2 separate regions of the Homo sapiens genome follow, and region 1 is linked to region 2. Evidence: promoter capture Hi-C in 16 types of primary human blood cells and fetal thymus (Javierre and others, 2016). All regions are on one chromosome and are shown on one strand. The core of a region is centred on a gene start or on the middle of the fragment in contact, and the rest is flanking DNA. Distances in the headings are between cores, read along the strand shown. Region 1 has its middle 3.5 kb from the start of KRTAP5-10. Region 2 holds the start of KRTAP5-5 (keratin associated protein 5-5).

Region 1 (2,813 bases), core at 313-2,812, about 70 Mb before region 2:
CTAAGGAAAACTGTATGGAGATTCCTCAAAAAGCTAAAAATAGAGCTAACCCAGCAATCCCACTATGGGGTGTGTATCCAAAGGAAAAGAAATCAGTGTGTTGAAGAGATATCTGCACCCCATGTTTATCACAGCACTGCTCACGATAGCCATGATATGAAAGCACCTAAGTGCTTGTCAACAGATGAATGGAAAACATGGAAAAGTAATGAAAAGGAAAAGATGGTGTATACACACAATGGAATTCTATTTAACCCTAGAGCAGAACAAAATTCTGCCCTATGTGACAATACAGGTGAGCTTGGAGGACATTATGCTAAATGAAATAAGCCAGGCACAGAAAGATGAACTGCATGATCTCACTCACAGGTGCAAGCTAAAGAAGTTGATATCTCACTGGTCCCCATAAACATGTACAATGATCATGCTTCAATTAAAATATTAATAAAGAAAGAAAAAGAATAACTGTAGAATATGCTGGGAATGCAACATCCTGAGTTAGGGAGGGACTGGCCAGAAGAGTCGGGCTTTGTCCCAGTTCCTAGAAACAGGATATTCTTTCGTGCTTTAGTGCAGTGAATCCTGTAGCCCTGGGACATAAGACCGAGGGCAGGCGGCTTTCTGGGATCCCTCAGCTGTGGTGTGAGTGGGGCACACATGGATAAGACTCAGCTCACCTGGGAAGCTTTGCTGAGGCTAGAGGGCTCCCAATGAATCCGAGGCTCCTGTTCTCCCTTGCTGCCTGTCTGTAACTGGTATACCCACTTCCTGTGACATATGTGAGTGTCTCACCTGAGTCTGATAAATGGGTAACATTAGTAGTAGCCAGAGGCTACTACTAATTTACTTTTTGTCTCTCTCTATTTTTCTATTCTTGAAATTTCATACCTGTGAAATTATATGATATGTGGTCTTTTATAATTTCCTTCTTTCACTTAGTGTAATGTTTTGTGGTTCATCCATGTTGCAGCCTGAAACAGAACTTCATTACTATGATAAATTATTTACACTAATCTTCCTTTGTATGAATACACCATTCATTCCTCAGTTGGCAGACATTAGACTGTTTCCACCTTTTGGCTGTTGTGAGTAATGCTGCTGTGAACATGGGTGTGCCAGTTTTTGCATGGAATGTGTTTTCATTTCCCTTGGGAACATCCTTATGAGCAGAATTGCTGGGCCCTATGGTAACTCTCTGCTTAAGTTTTTGAGGAACTGCAGACTGTTTTCCACAGTGGCTGAGCAATTTACATTCCCACAGCAGTGCATGGAGGTTCCAGTGTTTCTGCATCCTTGTCAACAGTTGTTATTTTATTTTATTTTTATTTATTTATTTTTTAGAGACAGGGTTTTACTGTGTTGACAAAGCTGAAGTGCAGTGTCATGATCATAGCTCACTGCAGCCTCAACCTCCTGGACCCAAGCAATCCTTGTCTCAAACTCCCCAGTAGCTGGGACTACAGTTGTGCCTCATCACACCCAGCTAAATTTTTAATTTTTTGTAGAGACAAGGTCTTGCCATGATACCCATACTAGACTCAAACTCGTGGCCCCAAGGGATCCTCCCTTCCAGCCTCCTGAGTCACTGGGATTACAGGTACAAGCACACCCTGCCCCAATACTTGTTAATGTCTGACCTTTTACATTATATTCATCCTAGTGTTTGTGAAATGGTATCTCATTGTGATTTCAATTTGCATCTCCCTGTTGAATCATGATGCTCAGAGTCTTTTTATATGCTTGTTGTCATTTGGGTATCTTCTTCAGAAAATGTCTAATTAAGATTCTTTGCCCACTTTTTAATTGGGTTATTTGTCTTTTTATTACTGAGTTCCACATCCAGAAGAATAAAACTGGGCCGCTAACCAGATCACCATATACAAACATTAATTCAAGATGGATTAAAGACCGAAATGTAAGACCTCAAACTATAAAAATCCTAGAAGAAGACCTAGGAAATCACCTTCTTGATATCAGCCTTGTTAAAAAAGAATTACGGCTAAATCCTCACAAGCAATTGCTACAAAAACAAAAATTGACAAGCGGGACGTAATTAAACGGAAGAGCTTCTGCACAGCAAGAGAAACTATCAGGGAGTCAACACTCAACCTACAAAATGGGTGAAAATATTCACACACTGTGCATCTGACAAAAGTCTAATATCTGCAATCTACAAGGAACTTAAATCAACAAGCAAAAAACAAATAACTTCATTACGAAGTGAGTAAAGGATATGAACAGACACTTCTCAAAAGAAGACATGCACATGGCCAACAACTATATGAAAAAATGCTCCACATCACTAACTATTAGGGGAATGTAAATCAAAACCACCATGAGATACCATCTCATATCAGTCAGAATGGCTTTTGATAAAAAATAAAAAATGAAACAACACAAAACAAAACAAACCAAAAATCAGATGCTGGCAAAGCTTGGGAGAAAAGGGAACAGTTGTACACTGTTGGTGGGAGTGTAAATGATTTCAGCCACCATGGAGAGCAGTTTGGAGATTCCTCAAAGAGCTAAGAATTGAACTACTATTTGACCCAGCAATCTCATTATTGGGTATATACCCAAAGGAAAATAAATCAATCTACCAAAAAGACACATGCATCCATATGTTCATTGCAGTGCTATTCACAGAAGCACAGATGTGGAATCAACCCAGGTGCCCATCAATGGTGGATTGGATAAAGAAAATGTGGTACATACACACCATGGAATACTACACAGCTATAAAAAAGAATGAAGTAATATCTTTTGCGGCAATATGCAGCTGGAGGCCATTATCCTAAGAGAACTAATGCAGA
Region 2 (2,853 bases), core at 159-2,658:
CTCTCCCCACCTCTCCCCACATACCAGACTGTGAGCTTGGATTTACTCTGCTCTGTCATCTCTGGAGCCCAACACAACAAGGGGCCCAGAGCAGAAAGCTATAGACGTTAGTTCTGTGCATGAAGACATGGACCATGACATGAAAGATGCTGAGGGGAGAGAAATGGGAACAGGCCCAGGGGTGGAGGCAAGAAGATGGTGCTTCTGGGAATGAGAGAGAGGTGGGAAGGAGAGAACCACAAGACAGTGAGCTTTGTGCTTAGAGACTTTGTTTATTTAGAGGGTCAGGATTCAGTCTTGATATACAGACAGCCAGAGAGATTGAGGGTCGATCACACTCCTGAAAGAAGGAGCAGCTGTCAGGGTCTAAGGGGTCTGATCTGCCTCTGGGGCCTCAGTGGGCCGCTTTGGATCTTAAATGAGTGAGGAGCAGGGAGAGGAAGTTCAGGAGAAGTAGTAGGCAATGAGCCAGAAGGGGTCCTCAGTCAGTTTCGGGAGCACTGGTGTGGAGTGGATGAAGCCAGTGAGGACACAGTGGAGACAGTGGAGCACCAGAGAACCCAGGGCAAGGAAGCTGGGCAGCCGGGCCCTTCACCAGTCAGGCCACCTGCAGTCTGCAGTCAGAGCCTCAGATCTTACACTGGCAGCACACGGGGACACAGCAGCTGGACTGGCAGCAGCAGGGCTTGTAGCAGCTGGATTGGCAGCAGGATGATCCACAGCCTGAGAAGCAGCTACAGGGCTTACAGCAGCTGGACTGGCAGCAGTAGGGCTTACAGCAGCTGGACTGGCAGCAGTAAGGCTTACAGCAGCTGGACTGGCAGCAGGATGACCCACAGCCTGAGGAGCAGCAGCAGGGCTTGCAGCAGCTGGACTGGGAGCAGCCATAAGAACCACAGCCCCCCTTGGACCCCCCACAGGAGCCACAGCCCCCCTTGGACCCCCCACAGGAGCCACAGCCCCCCTTGGACCCCCCACAGGAGCCACAGCCCCCCTTGGACCCCCCACAGGAGCCACAGGCCCCCTTGGACACCCCACAGGAGACACAGCCTCTCTTGGAGCCCCCGCAAGAGCCACAGCCCCCTTTGCCACAGCTGGAGCAGGAACAAGCTGGCACACAGCAGCACATGGGCTTGCAGCAGCAGACAGGCACACAGCAGCCGGAGCCACATCCCCCACAGCCCGCACAGCCGGAGCCACAGCCCCCACAGCCTCCACAGCCGGAGCCACAGCCCCCACAGCCAGAGCCACAGCCTCCACAGCCGGAGCCACAGCCCCCACAGCCGGAGCCACGGCCTCCACAGCCGGAGCCACAGCCTCCGGAGCAGCCACAGCAGCCCATGGTTCTGGTGGATTGAGGGTGGAGCAGGTAGAGGAGCAGGTGAGAGGGAGGTGCAGGTGTGGAGCCCCCTGAGCCCGGGCTCTTTATATCCCTGTCCAGGGTCAGGTGAGAGGCTGGGCACACTGTCACTTCCTGGTTCCTGCTTGTGCCACTGGTCCCAGTATTCTCTTCTGCTTTACATTTTTATAAATAACTCCTGTTTTCCTCGCACTTTTCTCGAATGTGCTGTCAGGTCTGTGATGGAAGCGGCCCCTCAGTAAACACTGGCCCCGCGGTGAGTTTCCCTTTCCATGTGACAAGAAGGAAGCGATGGGCAGGCAGTGGCTCGCTCAGAGGCCTTGGTCTTGCCGAGGGTGATTTTGAGCCCAGGACTCCTGGCTTGCTCCCGGGAAGATTCCTCTGCGGGAGCATCGTGTCTTGCTTGGGACGTGCCTAGGCCCTACACCTTCACGGTCCACAGCAGCTCCTGGCCCGCGGGCTGTTTCCAAGGGTCCCAGGACCTGGGGCTTCAGCCCTCAGCTCAGCAGGGTCGTTTTCGGTGTAAGACTTTGTTGGAAGGTTTGCAGTGTTGACTGAGACGGGGATTTTAAGCGCTTATTCTGGAGCTTGCTGCGTGCTCCCCATGGAAAGTGTTCTCCTGTGATAACCGCGGTCTCTTCCAGGGCTTTCAGACCACTCGGGTGGCAGGGCTGACAGATACAGTACAGGATGCCTGCTGGAACTTGAATTTCAGATCATCGAAGGCTGCCTTTTGAGGAAGGAAATCCAAGCATTGCAAGGGGCAGACACTGCCTCTGCGCTGGGTCAGGACCCAGATCGCATTGTCTCCTGCAGCGGTTCCTCCTGCCGCCGCACGGTGTCGCTGTGAAGCGGGTTCCCCCACTGCGTGGCCGGCCCAGGGGCTCCCGGACAGCGGCACAGGCTGATGGCAGAGGCCCTTTCAGGGCCAGTGAGCGGAAGAGGATGCCCTGTCTGGGTGCCCGCCTGCTCCGGGTCCCGGGCTCAGCCTGGGAAGCAGCAACTACATTCGGGTGCAGGCCCACTGGATGCTAAAGAAAGCCGGTGGAGAGCAGGGAACCGGATGGCCATTTGCCCCCGTGACCACAATACCTGTGAGTGCCCCGAGCCCAGTCAACAGGCCTCAGGCCACGGTGTAAACACCAGCTGGCACTCGGTGACTCTTGCCGTGTATGCTGGAGCCCCACTCTGTTCTGGGGCAGGGGACTGTATCTCAGGGAGGAACAGAAAACCCATTAGGAGAGAGCCGCCTTGTGTTGGCTGTCCCCACCAGAGGCGGCATCCTCCAGCTCTGGAACAGAGGCAACAGATACATTTGCTTCCTGATACATTCGCATCCAGCGCCTGATACATTCGCATCCAGCGCCTGATACGTTCGCATCCAGCGCCTGATACATTCGCATCCAGCGCCTGATACATTCGCATCCAGCGCCTGATACATTCGCATCCAGTGCCTGATACATTTGCATCCAGCGCCTGATACATTTGTCCCA

The links. Contacts are between HindIII fragments. The CHiCAGO score rates a contact against its expected background, and 5 or more counts as called.
Region 1: a fragment that was not itself captured here is called in contact with the fragment with the promoter of KRTAP5-5 in region 2 in 1 of 17 cell types (M0 macrophages); the score reaches 5.9 in M0 macrophages.

What each region holds. Positions count from the first base shown.
Region 1 is chr11:71,560,639-71,563,451 of GRCh38, reverse strand. No RefSeq gene overlaps it. Among named protein-coding and RNA genes, the nearest start is that of KRTAP5-10, 3.5 kb to the left of the region's middle. The HindIII fragment of the contact is 1,749 bases long and covers 688-2,436 here.
Region 2 is chr11:1,628,330-1,631,182 of GRCh38, reverse strand. KRTAP5-5 (keratin associated protein 5-5) reads right to left here and starts at 1,408. Exons shown (of 1, transcript NM_001001480.3): 1 at 253-1,408. The coding sequence starts at 1,342. The coding sequence ends at 629. The HindIII fragment of the contact is 5,409 bases long and covers 1-2,853 here.